Linked DNA regions of Homo sapiens: regions 2, 3 and 4 are each linked to region 1. The links are contacts of gene promoters, found by promoter capture Hi-C in blood cells and fetal thymus (Javierre and others, 2016). All regions are on one chromosome and are shown on one strand. Each heading gives the region's core, a stretch centred on a gene start or on the middle of the fragment in contact. The rest is flanking DNA. Distances are from core to core; before and after follow the strand shown. Region 1 holds the start of CDH20 (cadherin 20). Region 2 has its middle 440 kb from the start of MC4R. Region 3 has its middle 320 kb from the start of MC4R. Region 4 has its middle 300 kb from the start of MC4R.

Region 1 (3,054 bases), core at 473-2,972:
TGACAGGGCAAGACCAAGCCTCCCTCTTCCTCCTTCTCCTTCACCTGCTCAACATGAAGCCAACAAGGATGAAGACCTTTATGATGATCCACTTCCACTTAATGAATAGTAAATACATTTCATTTTCCTTATTATTTCCTTAGTATCATTTTCTTTCCTCCAGACTATTGTTAAGAATACAGCATATAAAATGTATAGCATATAAAATATGTGTTAGTCGACTGCTTATGTTATCCATAAAGTTTCCAGACAACAGTAGGCTATTAGTAGTTAAGTTTTTGGAGTGAAAAGTTATATGCGGATTTTTGACTACACGAGGGTCAGTGCTCCTAACCCCCATGTTGTTCAAGGGTCAACTGCCCTTACTTTATTGAGCCACATCTGCATCATCTATTAAAATAGAGAAATAATAGTCTAGACTGAATAGAGTTGTTGGAAAAATGAAATGAAATAACATGTGTAACACATGTCTGTCACATAACAAGTTCTCCATAAACATTAGCTATTCTGCTATTAATAATCATTGTTATAACTATGAGTTCTAATTCTAGGCCTGCTGAAAGCTATTAAAATATGGCATGACTGCCTTAACTGGGATACTATTTCTATTGTCACACACTTGGGAATCTTATTGGATGTTTATATATATCATTTTATCAGTTCTTTACACACATTGATCATTTGGCCACAGAGCAGTTGTACAAATAGATTATTTAGTAACCTATCAATTCAATCAAAATAACTTGCTCTATTACAATCAGTGATGGGGGAGGAAATCCTCCAAGCACCTTGCTTGAAGAGAAATGTAGAAACCACATCGGGCAAAAAGTCCCCCTCCAGCCACTGTGAAACCCAAGTTGTCGTCAGTAACTTGACATTCTAGGGTAGGAATCAGGACAGGAGAGAGGTGATCTCTCCTTTTGACCTTGTGTATTCTGACCTCAGAAATAAGAGCTGGAATTGCCTTCTGGAATGGGCCTGTCACAGTATTGTGTGATTTGGGGGACCCCCTTCATCTGGGAGAGAAGGGTGGTCTCAGCTTCCACCTCAGAAATTTCTGACCCTTAATATACCTCCACCCCATCTCTAGTTAAAGGCTTAAAACTCTAAGATTTTCCTATGAGGACAAAAAGAAAAGGAAATCTGAGCATTTGAAGAAATTCTTAAAAGTCGATGAGTGAGGTTTCCCTCACACATGCCATCTTCCCCTACCTCTCCTCTTGAAAACAATGTCTTTTGCACCCTCAAGGTCAAGGTTAAACCCGAGTTGGTACTCATTTCCTTTCTGATTTTATTTGCCTTATCCTGTTCTACTCCTCAATTGCCTCTTCCAGAATCTGTGCAAAATAATTACCTCAACTTCAGGGGAAAGTTTAGATGTAAATACCCCCGCCCCCCTCCCCACGTCCACACATCCCCTTTCTTCTCTCTCCCTCTTAACATTTCCTTACGCTCTCAGCCAATAGAGGAGTTGAAACATTTAAATGCGGTATCTAAACTGCATTTAAAGAATTAACCCATTTTGCCCCTCACTGGTCTAAACCACAGGGTGCCAACCGGACGTTAATTGCTTTCATCTGGTGGGGTTCCAGACAGCTCCTCAGAAGGAAGGAGCGCACATTCCTGGCACCAATTGGCTAATTCAATTTACTTCAGCGGCATTAGCCTCTGTCAGAATATTCATGAGCAGGGGAATGAGGACCCGCGGTACAGGCAGGCAGCAGCCACTCCTGCTAGGGAAGGCGCGAGGGAGGGGAAGCGGACCGCGCGCCACGCTCGGGGGACGGTGACCGCGACCAGGGGGCTCTTCTCACTGGACAGGCCGAACGCGGTGGCCGCGGGAGGGCAGGGCAGGGCATCGGCGGGGTTGGTGCACTTGGCAGTACCCCCCAACTCCTGGCAACCGCACGGAGACTTTGCGAAACATCCGAAGGCAGAAAAGCTGTGACACTTCTGACAGAGGGGGTAGGGGGGTGGGGGGCGGGGACAGCGCCGCGAGCAGGGGTGAAGAGACCCAGCGGGGCACCAGCCGCCCAGTGGGGGAGGCAGCTACGTGAGCAGAACGCCCGCCCTGGAGCAGTTAGGACCGAAGGTCTCCGGAGAGTCGCCGGCGGTGCCAGGTAACGCAGAGGGCTCGGGTCGGGCCCCGCTTCTGGGGCTTGGGACTCCGGGCGCGCGGAGCCAGCCCTCTGGGGCGAAATCCCCGGGCGGCGTGCGCGGTCCCTCTCCGCGCTGTGCTCTCCCAGCAACTCCCTGCCACCTCGACGAGCCTACCGGCCGCTCCGAGTTCGACTTCCTCGGACTTAGTGGGAGAAGGGGTTGGAAATGGGCTGCCGGGACTGGGGGAGCTGCTCTCTGGAAGCAGGGAAGCTGGGGCGCACCGGGGCAGGTGGAGGACGTGGCGCGCTGGGAGCGGGGACTGCGCGCGCCTGGGGATGGTGACTGGGGATCCAGGAGCGCGGCTTGTGGGGGCGCTTGGCACGGCTTCACCCTCGCTGGCCCCGCAGGCGGTGGCGCCTCCCTCCGCCTGCAGAGGGGACAGGGTGGCCGCGTCCCTCGCACAGAGATGTGCGCCGGGAAGGGGACCAGAGAGCCAGGCTCCGGGGAGGCGCAGGCACCTACGGGGCCGATCCCTGGTCCGTGCCTCGCGCCGCGCCCCCGCCGGAGCTCGGCTGTGGGAGGAGAATGTGGTGGGTACTCGAGTCCCCGCCACCTGCCGGACTTCGCCAACTCCCCGGATTTCCTGTCCTCGGGCCCTGACACTCCCAAGGAAAGCTCTGAATTGCGCTCGCTGTTTGGTTTTTGCTTGTTGTAGTTACTCTGGGGGAAGAGCCGGGGGCAAGGGGGTCAAATGGGGCTAAAGTTTCAGATTTGCAAAGAGAACGTTACCGAGGACTCTCAACGTGTCCTTAGCAATCGGAGAGACTGCAGCAGCCTTTGCCTAGCTATCCGCCTCTGGGGCAGCAGTGGGGGCTGAAATCTGGAAGGCAGCCCGGAGGCAGCGTCAGAGCCTTGTTTTGTTTTGTTTGTTTCTGCCGAGACCAGGCTGGAAGT
Region 2 (3,505 bases), core at 407-2,906, 520 kb before region 1:
TATTATGCATAAAAGAAGGTAAATAATCTTACATTAGAAGCGTGATGTAAAAGTCAATCTAATTGTGTATATGTTAAAATAAAACCTTTCTGAATAGGTGACACTCTGAAAAACATTGTAGAATTGTTTAGAGATGTTGACACAGCAAAAAGTATAGTAAGTTCCTAAAATGTATTGAAGTAGAGAACAGCTTTTCTTGGACTTAAATTTTAAATGAACCTTGAAGTGTTATTAAAAATGTTAATTTTAAGAAGGAAGAGCCTTTCCAGGAAGAAATTTTCCAAATATCTGGGTTCCTAATGACTACTTCTTAAGTCTTGTGAATACTCGAAATAGAAACTCTTGCATTTTTATGATTAATCAACCTCTTATGTTCTAAGCCTGAGATCATATTTATCTATTTATCTATATATCTATCATCTATCTATCTCACTACATACACACACACACACTTCAGTAGGTAGCAGCAAAGGCTTTCTCTTTCACTGTGTTATTTTAACTTTCATAAGAGAAAAGTTGCCTTACTATAGAAAGAATATATTCCCAATTCCATGTTCACAGCTTTTCTTTAATTATCATCTTTCTTAACCACATTTTTCACTTCATAAACTTGGCATACATGTTATATAAGAAAGTTTAAAGTATGATCTGAAGTGCAAAGTAATATATATTTCAAAAAGATATTAAGTAGGCACAAAGATTAATTTGTTTTTTGTTAATCTCATCCTCTATTTTTCTCTTCATTAACACTTATTTCTGTGCCCTTTGGTAACTGGGAAAGACATAGTGAGTAAATTGTAAGGGGAAAAATCCTCATTACTTCATGAAAACATGCGTCATAAGGTCAAATTAAGGATTCAACATAACCCTTCCCTGTTAGTCGCGCTACTTATATGTTATTTATTGCAAAGGTAAAAGATACAGTTTATTTTCCAACTTGTAGCATTAAACATTTTAAATATTAAAGATGATAGAAAAACTTGGTTTGCATTTTCCTTTTGTGGACTCCAGAGGGCAGCATGCATTCTTTCAATGTCATAAAAGGTTAATAATAGCTATCCATCTATCTTTTTGTCTGTCTGTCTTTCTATCTATCTATCTATCTATCTATCTATCTATCTCTTCCATTGACTTTATATCTGTATTTCTGGGTAGAGACAAGTAGATCCCTGCTAAAAAGAAGAAATGAGAGAAATTATATATATATATATATATATATATATATATATATATATATATATATATTTAAATTATTAGATACTTTCTTTGCATTTCCAAAAGAAAAAACACAATGTGGTTAACTAAGCAGAACATATCCTTCTGGACCTTCCAAAAGTACTAAATATAAAATAACATTATTTTACTTTCATTTTAAAAACTATTTAATTTTATAAATAATTAAGCTTTTGAATAGATGCTGAAAATTACTCCATTCTTTATATAACCAACAAAACAAGACTAGAAAAGTAAAACTGACTTTCACCAGGACAAACAATGAATTTTCCTAAGAATAAAGGATGATATGGTAGCACATTCTGGACAACTTTTAGATGTCTGAATATATAGCAAGGGAAACTTAGATACTCCCTGTGTAAAGGGCTATCTTGTGCATTTACTTGTCTAGACTTTTAATAAATCAAGACCAGTCAGTGACCATTTATAAAGTGCTGGCATTATTCTAATTATAGAAGAAGTGTGTGATATATAACTGTAGGGGATGTGGAAAGACAAGCCTGTGTTTTTCAACTAATGATGCTTTTAATGACCTCTCCTCACAAGCTACTCAATGAACAATTTAGAAGAAGGTAAAGGTAATAAAGAGAGCTTTATTCTACTTACTTCTCTCTTAATTTCATCTTTTGGTTTGTTTTAATCAAGAAAAAATGGGACAAAATAATCATTTCACAGATAAAGCTTTAGTTAATGGTAGAGGAAAGAATATCAATCTGGAATTGAGCATTGAAAATTTGAAGCACCTGGGGGAGATTCTGCTTACAGAGAGAATGGGGACAATAAATGAGGACCATGGAAAAGGTAAAAGTGGCATTTTACTAATAATTATACATGAAATTACAGCGATTACATTTATTTTCCACTAAATTAAAACAAAACAAAGTTGCGACTAATGTTTAAAAATGCAAGAAAAGGAAAATGCAGTATTTTGATATGATATGCACACCTGCTTATATTTGTCTCTGGTTGTTTGCAGGACCTGGTCACATAAACTTTCACAATGGTATTTTTTTTTTTTTTAATGGAAGGGAAGCCCAAGTTCCTTATTTCTACTTGCAAGAAAATTAACACTTGGGAGAAAGTGCAGAATGATTGAAAGATGATCTTAACAAATCATTACATTTTTCTTTTTGGTCTTAACAAGTAGAAATAAAGCTACATCTATGGGATTCTTTAACATGAGCACTGTAATTTACATGCAAAATAAATTCAGGTGGAGCTATTCAGGGAGACTAGGTATAGCAGGATCACCATTTGTCAGAGATTATTACTCTAGAAGGCTCCCTAGGAGAAGCATAAATTTGTCCTGAAATAACACATTGCGTAATAACAGCAAGGAGCTTGTCTCTGCACTTCTCAAAGGCTGCACACCTGTGCAGAGAGACCTTCCCACTGAGCCTATCAAGCTAACCTGCTCATTCATGTGGCAATCCCAGCCCTTAGTTAGGAACTACTGAAGCAATCACAGAACCATCAATTTACCCACTAACATGTTGTCTTTGAAACATAACGGGGATAGATCTATTTCATTTGAAACCCTAAATGCTTTAAGAAAGACTGGGTTAGTAGGAAGATACCAAACACTGGATTTAAGTAATCCTAAATTTAAAAAAAAAATCTCAATAGTTTGGCTCATTCATTAACTATGAAGATCAGTGTCCTCATATCTAAATGGAGAATAATAAAGTCCTCATCAGAGGATTATTGTGATGATGATAATTGCTTTAGGCAAAGTGTCTAGCGCAGTGCCTGGAATAATTGAGCATCTCTGCTTGTGTTGGAATCAGGGGGCCTATAATATTACAAACTCAGATCTCGTCCTTCATGTAAGATGACAAACCATCCGCAGCATAACCCCAAGCTCTGAATAGTAGCACTGACCCATTTGTGTTATGTGTCCCTGCCCACATTTAACTTATGGATTCTGGTCATCCAAGGCTCGGTGAGATATAGAATGGTTCTGGGTACTCTAGCCATGAGACTGTTAACGAGCTAAGTGGCCATAAATGGAGTTACACTGTGTGCTCATTCAGGACCAAGTTCCAAATAGCAACTTTCTGTCTAGCTAGTCCTTCAGCCACTTGTAAGGAAACTTTAATGCAAAGATATCCTTTTGAAAGTAGGAGCAAACCTTTTTATTATTGAATACTGATTTAGTTAATTGAATTATTAAGCCTTTGGAACTTCATCCATTTATAGTTCCACTGTCATTTTGTTGTTTTGGAAGAGTGATATGAGGGAGCACACTCATTTACCAAGCCTACACTAATAG
Region 3 (3,349 bases), core at 694-3,193, 640 kb before region 1:
CGGACTTCAACTCTTACGGCTTTATTTACGTTGCACCTATGATTTTCTTGTTTCTTGAGGACAATGTTAATTAAGAAGGAAAATTGGCTGATCTTGAGTAAGTCTTTCTCTCCCAAGATTCACATCACTAATTTGTACAATAGTCTTGATTTAAATAGTCTGTAAAGTTCTATTAAGTTATACTATGTTGTATAACCCCTACTTAATATTATTAGTAGTTCAATATATTTAATCATGAATTAGGATTTTCAGGCTTATGGGTGCAGACAGTTTAGTATCTGTGAAGCATTTAGGTACCTGGTTGATACACATTTGAGTTTGGTCTGAATCTTAATGCATCATGTTCTCAAATATTAAAGACTATTGAATTTGGTTGTTCTTGGATGATCTTCACTCTGTATATCCCAAATGTAATAGTCATCCTTTTAAAAATGACCTTTGATTTTATTTGTTTGTTTTTGTTCACAAAATGTGAAGGCATTGATGAAAACTCTGTCTGTGGAGTTAGGCAGCCTTCTTTCATACCCAATTCCACCACTTCGTGACTGTGAATTTTGGCAAGTCACTCAATTTTTCTAAGGGTATTTTCTCATCTGTTGAAACAGGAAAATTAAAAAATTATGAAGTTTAAAATTTTTACATATTAAGTGCACCACATTTTAAGTGTGAGCTGTTTGTCAATAATAATTTTATTGCTATCTTTACTATTGTTATTACCTCATTTCACCAAATTGTGATTCAACACTAGAAGTTGGCTGTAAGTCTTACAATTTGATATATGTATATATTTTTTAACTCTGAGGTACGTTCATGTTCCAAATTATTCTGCCTTATTTTCTGTGCAAATTTTCTGAAATTTACACAGAGTATTGAAATGAGCATGTCTTCATAAGTGCATCAGAGCAAAACAAAAAAGACCTAGAGAAAGACTACAGTTTTACGTGAGCCAGAGAATAATATAGGATGTATTCATTTTCTATTGCTGCATTACCACAAATTTAGGAACTTAAAACCACCACCATTTACCATCTTACAGCTTCTGCAGGTCAAGTCCAGGCACAGCAAAGATAAGGCCTCTGCTTAGGATTTTACAGAGTCTCTCTCTCTGTCGTCTAGGCTGGAGTGCAGTGGTGCGATATCGGCTAACTGCAACCTCCGTCTCCTGAGTTCAAGCGATTCTCCTGCTTCAGCCTCCTAAGTAGCTGGGACTACAGGCATGTGCCACCATGTCTGGCTAATTTTTGTAGTTTTAGTAGAAACAGGGTTTCACCATATTGGCCAGGCTGGTCTTGAACTCTTGACCTCAGGTGATCCGCCCAGCTCCGCCTCCCAAAGTGCTGGTATTACAGGCATGAGCCACTGTGCCCAGCCTGCTTAGGATTTTAAAAGCTGAAATCAAGGTTTTGGCTAGGGCTGTGTTCTGTTCTGGAATTCAGTGTTTTCTCCCAAGCTCTTTCAGATTGTTGACTGAATTTAGTTCCTTGTGGTGCAGAACTAATGTACCTGGGTTTTTTGTTTGTTTGTTTTGCTGGCTATGAGCAGGATGGCCAGTAGAAAGACTCAAGGACACCCCTGTAGTGTCATCCAGAAGCAGTTCACAACATCATTGTCTGCTTTCTTCCAGGCCAGCAGGAGTGTCTGCTGCTGCATCTTGTATCTTTTAAGGGCTCACCTGATTAGGTCTCATCCAAGATAATTTATCTTTTGAGAACTCAAAGCCAACAGATTAGGAACTTTAAAGTTATCTGAAAAGTCTATTTTGCCATATTACATACTATCATCAAGGGATTAAATTTCCATCATATTTACAGCTTCTATTTGCACTCAGGGGAGAGGATTATATGGATAGCAGGCAACTTGGGGGCTATCTTAGAGTTCCGCCTACCGGAATTTTGCTTGAGTGACAAAGGCATTAATAAAAGTTTAATATTGGCTCTACTAGTCAGTAATCTTTTCATGGAAACAAACTATCATATGCAAGACATTGAAATAAATCTAATTTAGGAGTATGAAAGAGATCAAAATCTATAACGGTGTACAGAGCAAACAAAGGCTTGAAATGCAAGTGGACGAAAAATGACGGAAGAAGAACAGAAGTGAGACTGCCCTGCTTGGTGACAGGCTTAAGGAAAAGTGAGGTTCAAACACGAGGTGGAGTCAGTCTATAGGGAGTCCTTTTGCCCCAGCAAGAAAATATGAATTCCACAAATTTGTATCAGAGAAATGTAGTTGTGTTTCCTACAGACTCTTAAGCACAGAAAGGGAATATTTGCAAATAAAAATATTTGTTAAGATATATAAGGAGAAGCTCATTGGATAATTTGTGTTTTTTTTTCCTCCAAAATGAGGTAATAACCTCAGAAGAAAATATTAATTCAAAATATTTGTTATTAAATGGTTTAAACATTTATCTAACCTCAGAGGATGAGAGAAAAAAATAAGTTTAGAAATGTTAGATGAAAGGATAAAATAGGCCAATTTGATTACATGTACATAAGCGTTCTCCATGACACTCATGTTTGATAAACACAGTAAATATGAATAAAACATAGATGGTTAATTGTATGTGAGCTCATTATGTAGTAAATAAATGATAGTGGTTTTTTTTTAAGTTAGTGTAAAATGCCTTAAGGGGGCATAATTTGAACATATCTACTATTTTCTGAATGTTTATCATATGTCAGTGGGCTCAGTGCTTTAGACGTATTACCTACATTTTAATGTTTAGTTGATATTAGTGTCTCAGTTTTATGAGTAAGGAAACTGATTTGAAGAGGTTAAGTGCCTCAGGTCACAAGACCAGTGAGTGAGAGCCCCTAGAGGAAGCTGAAACTAGACCTGACTTGAAAGCCTCCTCCTCTACCGGCCTGCCCCGATTAAAGGGTGGTTAAGAAAGAGGATTCAGCCGAGACACACATACATAAGGTAAGATGCTTAGTCTTCTTATTAATAAAATAATTTTAAATGAGATATTATTTTCATTTATCAAATTATAAATAATTTTTTTCTGAACTCTAATTGGTATATTTCTCCACTTGATTGGTCCTCAAATGACAGCAGATTCAGCAACATACCTCGTTTAATACCCTTGGTTTATGTTTTGAAAACATTGGTACATTATCAAATAATAGAATTTCTAAAACCTGGTATCCTCTTTAGTTTTGTCTAATTTTCTCTGATGACTAAGAAATCTGAGAACATTTTCCTAAAACGATTTACAGACATCATTCTTGGATCAGTACTAAACAGAGTAGGATATGAAAGTTGTTGATTGGGCCGGGCGCGGTGGCTTACGCCTGTAATCCCAGCACTTTGGGAGGCCGAGGCCGGTGGAGCACGAGGTCAGGAG
Region 4 (3,163 bases), core at 642-3,141, 660 kb before region 1:
TTAATGGTTATATATTAATTTATTCACTAAACCCTGTGTACAGCAGAAGCTATTGTGTTACTATTTTACTTTGAACTGAATAGTATTCTAAAATGATTTGACCACCTTAACCATGTCACACTTACGCCATAAAATGAATCTGGATGAATTTATTATATTCGTTTTTCTAATTGTAAGTAAAGACAATACTCTTGTGATTTTTTACAAATACAAATATATATATATACACACACACACACACACATACATATGTGTGTATGTATATACATGCATAAATACACAGTGTATATAAATATATATGCATATATATCCAGATATACATTTAAATATAAACATATGTATGTACCTTAACTTAGATACATCTTTCTATGACCACTTTTTGTAGACTCATTTGTTTGTTACCTAATCATCATGAATAAAATGTGGCTAAATTGTTCTTAAGAAAGTTTTCTGTTTAAAATCTTTAAAAAATAATTATTAATGTTTTGTTACAGAATGCTTAAGTATAAAGACTCTAGATATAAAACCGCTAATCCATAGAAAATATATACCTATCTTAAATATAAAACTTTAAGATTTTAATATCTTCCAATAAATACCTAAGCAGTTCATGAAATCATACTTGAAAACAATATGAATTTAAGAACATGATATTTCCTTAAATCAGTTACAATGATGTAACCATCTATTTAAATAAATAAAACCAAAATATTCTCTTTTCATCCATACTGAGTTCTATTCTCAGGGTCACAAAACTGACAAATTGACTTTGAGAACTGTGTTGAACAAGCTAGTGGACAATTACTACATAAAGAGGACAATTGATTCTGTTTGGATGAAAATGACAGTTCTACCAGTCATTTTGTACAAATAGTAAAAGAATGTTTGTGAGAATAAAAATATTAACTACAACTTGATATAGGCTATTCTTTAAATTTCCAATAGTCAATTCCATATAACCAGCTATTAAAAGCTGTGTTCATTTAATGTCTCAAGTGCTGTAAAACATATTAAAATTTCAAAAGTGCATTTTATTGAAATAAAATATTGTATTAGAGAAAAAATTTAAAAAAACAATGTGTTGATATTGTGTAAGGCAGTTGATGTTTTAAGAGCAGGTGGTAGGTTACTCTCTAAATAAAAGGAGAAAATTCTGCTACTTCATATACATTGCAAATCTAGGTTTAATCAACTTCCACAAAACCACTTTACCTTATGTATTAACATATGAAATATGTACATTATATATGAAAGTAAGTTTATTATTTAGATTAACATAAAAAATAAAAAAATAAGAAATGTGATGTAGGTTTAAATGCTTGTAGGTTTCTAATAATAGCTTGAAGATAAGCCATGAAAATAACGGCTAGGTTGTATTCAAAATTCTGATTGATATTTAGGTTGAAATGATAATTAAAAAATAGTTTAGCACTCTCCCACTCAATTGTGTCAAGATTAAATTTACTCCAAAGTTGGGCATTGTTTCCAGCCACTCTGCCTGTTGGCATTTATTCAGAATGATGGTAAGCTGACTGCTGACTATTGGCATATCTAAAAACCATGAAAACTCAAACACTCCAAATGCAACATTAACGTATGTGGTATATGTATAATTTTCTGTCATTTGACACATAAGCTTAAAAAGTTTGTATGATTACCTCAGTTTCAACTAAATTTAGGACTTAGTTTGACCCACAAATTATCCAACATTCTTATAATCAGTGATCTCTACTCCCATTCCACCAACTCTCTCAGAGTCTCTTTGGTCTGTGGTGCTCACCTTTTTGTTCATTAAAGCCCTTACAGAGAGAGCCATGCATAAACATCCTATCATCCAACCCTTCTCAAAGCCTTTCTAGAGATCCTTCCAGTTGGCATCAGGAGACTGTGGCTATCATGGACTCTACCCATTCTTACTATTACTAGTGTGTTTGAACAGTAGATATTTCTTTCATTCTTTGGTTAGCTTCCATTCATTAGTTCATTTTTCATTTATCAGAGTGAGGAGCAAATTTGGTTTTCTTCTTCAGATTTGTTAATTATCTGAACCTTATATATAGTTCTTGCATCTGAAACACATTTTCTTCTCTGGCATTCTCCAGGTCAATACGTACACTTTCATTAATTATCTGCATATATACTGGACAAAGCTTTAAATGAGGTACAATCTGTTTTCCATATTTTGCCCTGAGAAAATGGCAACCTCTACCTTAATTACAGGTAATTTTTTTTTGCAATCTTTTGTGTCTGTTAAATAGATCTGAACTTAACTTCTACAAATTCTCAAATTTTTCCACATTTATTTTTCCCATGAAGGAGGCAAATTTAACTTTTCAAAAAGCATTTTCCTACATCTAAATAAATTAAAAGAATATCATCTCTGACAGTCCTTGAAATTCCTGTGATGAGTAGAGGAAATTTTATGAAATTCACTGGTGTAGAGCTGAACACCTGCTTCGAAAAGGAGTGGGAATTAAACAGTTGGAACACATGGACACAGGGAGGGGAACATCACACACTGAGGCCTACCATGGGGTAAGAGGCAAGCGGAGGGAGAGCATTAGGACAAATACCTAATGCAAGTGGGGCTTAAAACCTAGATGATGGGTTGATAGGTGCAGCAAACCACCATGGCACATGTAAACCTATGTGATAAACCTGCACATTCTGCACGCGTATCCGAGAACTTAAAGTAAAATAAAAAATAAAAATAAAAAAGGGGATTCAGTTTACTTCATACTAACATATGTTCCTTGCACATCACTTTGCTTAAATTTCTCTGATATCTGTAGCAGAGCATCTGAAAATAATCTGTAGTAATAGCATTTTGACATTGCAGCCTCCGTGGACCTGCATGCACAGGAGACTATGACTTGCTTTTATATCTCATATTATTGCCTTTTCTACATGAATGGTACAAGTTTTTTGAATATTTCACTTAAAAGTGCTCACAAATATATTTCCTAGCTCTGTCTTCCTAGAAACAATGATAGCTTAATAGCACAAGGTATACCTAGTACTCAAAGCTTGATTTTAAATACCAGTCTCCAATAAAAGGAACGATGAATGCTTAGAGAAATGGCTGGTTTTAGGGCTTGAAGAGGAAATGTACAATACAAGCCTGGAACAACTTGTGATGACAGAAAACCCGGAAGTAAGACCC

The links. Contacts are between HindIII fragments. The CHiCAGO score rates a contact against its expected background, and 5 or more counts as called.
Region 2: a contact is called between a fragment that was not itself captured here and the fragment with the promoter of CDH20 in region 1, in 1 of 17 cell types (endothelial precursors). The highest score is 8.4, in endothelial precursors.
Region 3: a fragment that was not itself captured here is called in contact with the fragment with the promoter of CDH20 in region 1 in 1 of 17 cell types (endothelial precursors); the score reaches 7.2 in endothelial precursors.
Region 4: a contact is called between a fragment that was not itself captured here and the fragment with the promoter of CDH20 in region 1, in 1 of 17 cell types (endothelial precursors). The highest score is 5.4, in endothelial precursors.

What each region holds. Positions count from the first base shown.
Region 1 is chr18:61,331,708-61,334,761 of GRCh38, forward strand. It overlaps CDH20 (cadherin 20), which reads left to right and starts at 1,723. Exons shown (of 12, transcript NM_031891.4): 1 at 1,723-2,120. The HindIII fragment of the contact is 13,774 bases long and covers 1-3,054 here.
Region 2 is chr18:60,807,577-60,811,081 of GRCh38, forward strand. No RefSeq gene overlaps it. Among named protein-coding and RNA genes, the nearest start is that of MC4R, 440 kb to the left of the region's middle. The HindIII fragment of the contact is 511 bases long and covers 1,402-1,912 here.
Region 3 is chr18:60,689,650-60,692,998 of GRCh38, forward strand. No RefSeq gene overlaps it. Among named protein-coding and RNA genes, the nearest start is that of MC4R, 320 kb to the left of the region's middle. The HindIII fragment of the contact is 4,371 bases long and covers 1-3,349 here.
Region 4 is chr18:60,671,658-60,674,820 of GRCh38, forward strand. It overlaps the pseudogene LOC100420948. Among named protein-coding and RNA genes, the nearest start is that of MC4R, 300 kb to the left of the region's middle. The HindIII fragment of the contact is 514 bases long and covers 1,635-2,148 here.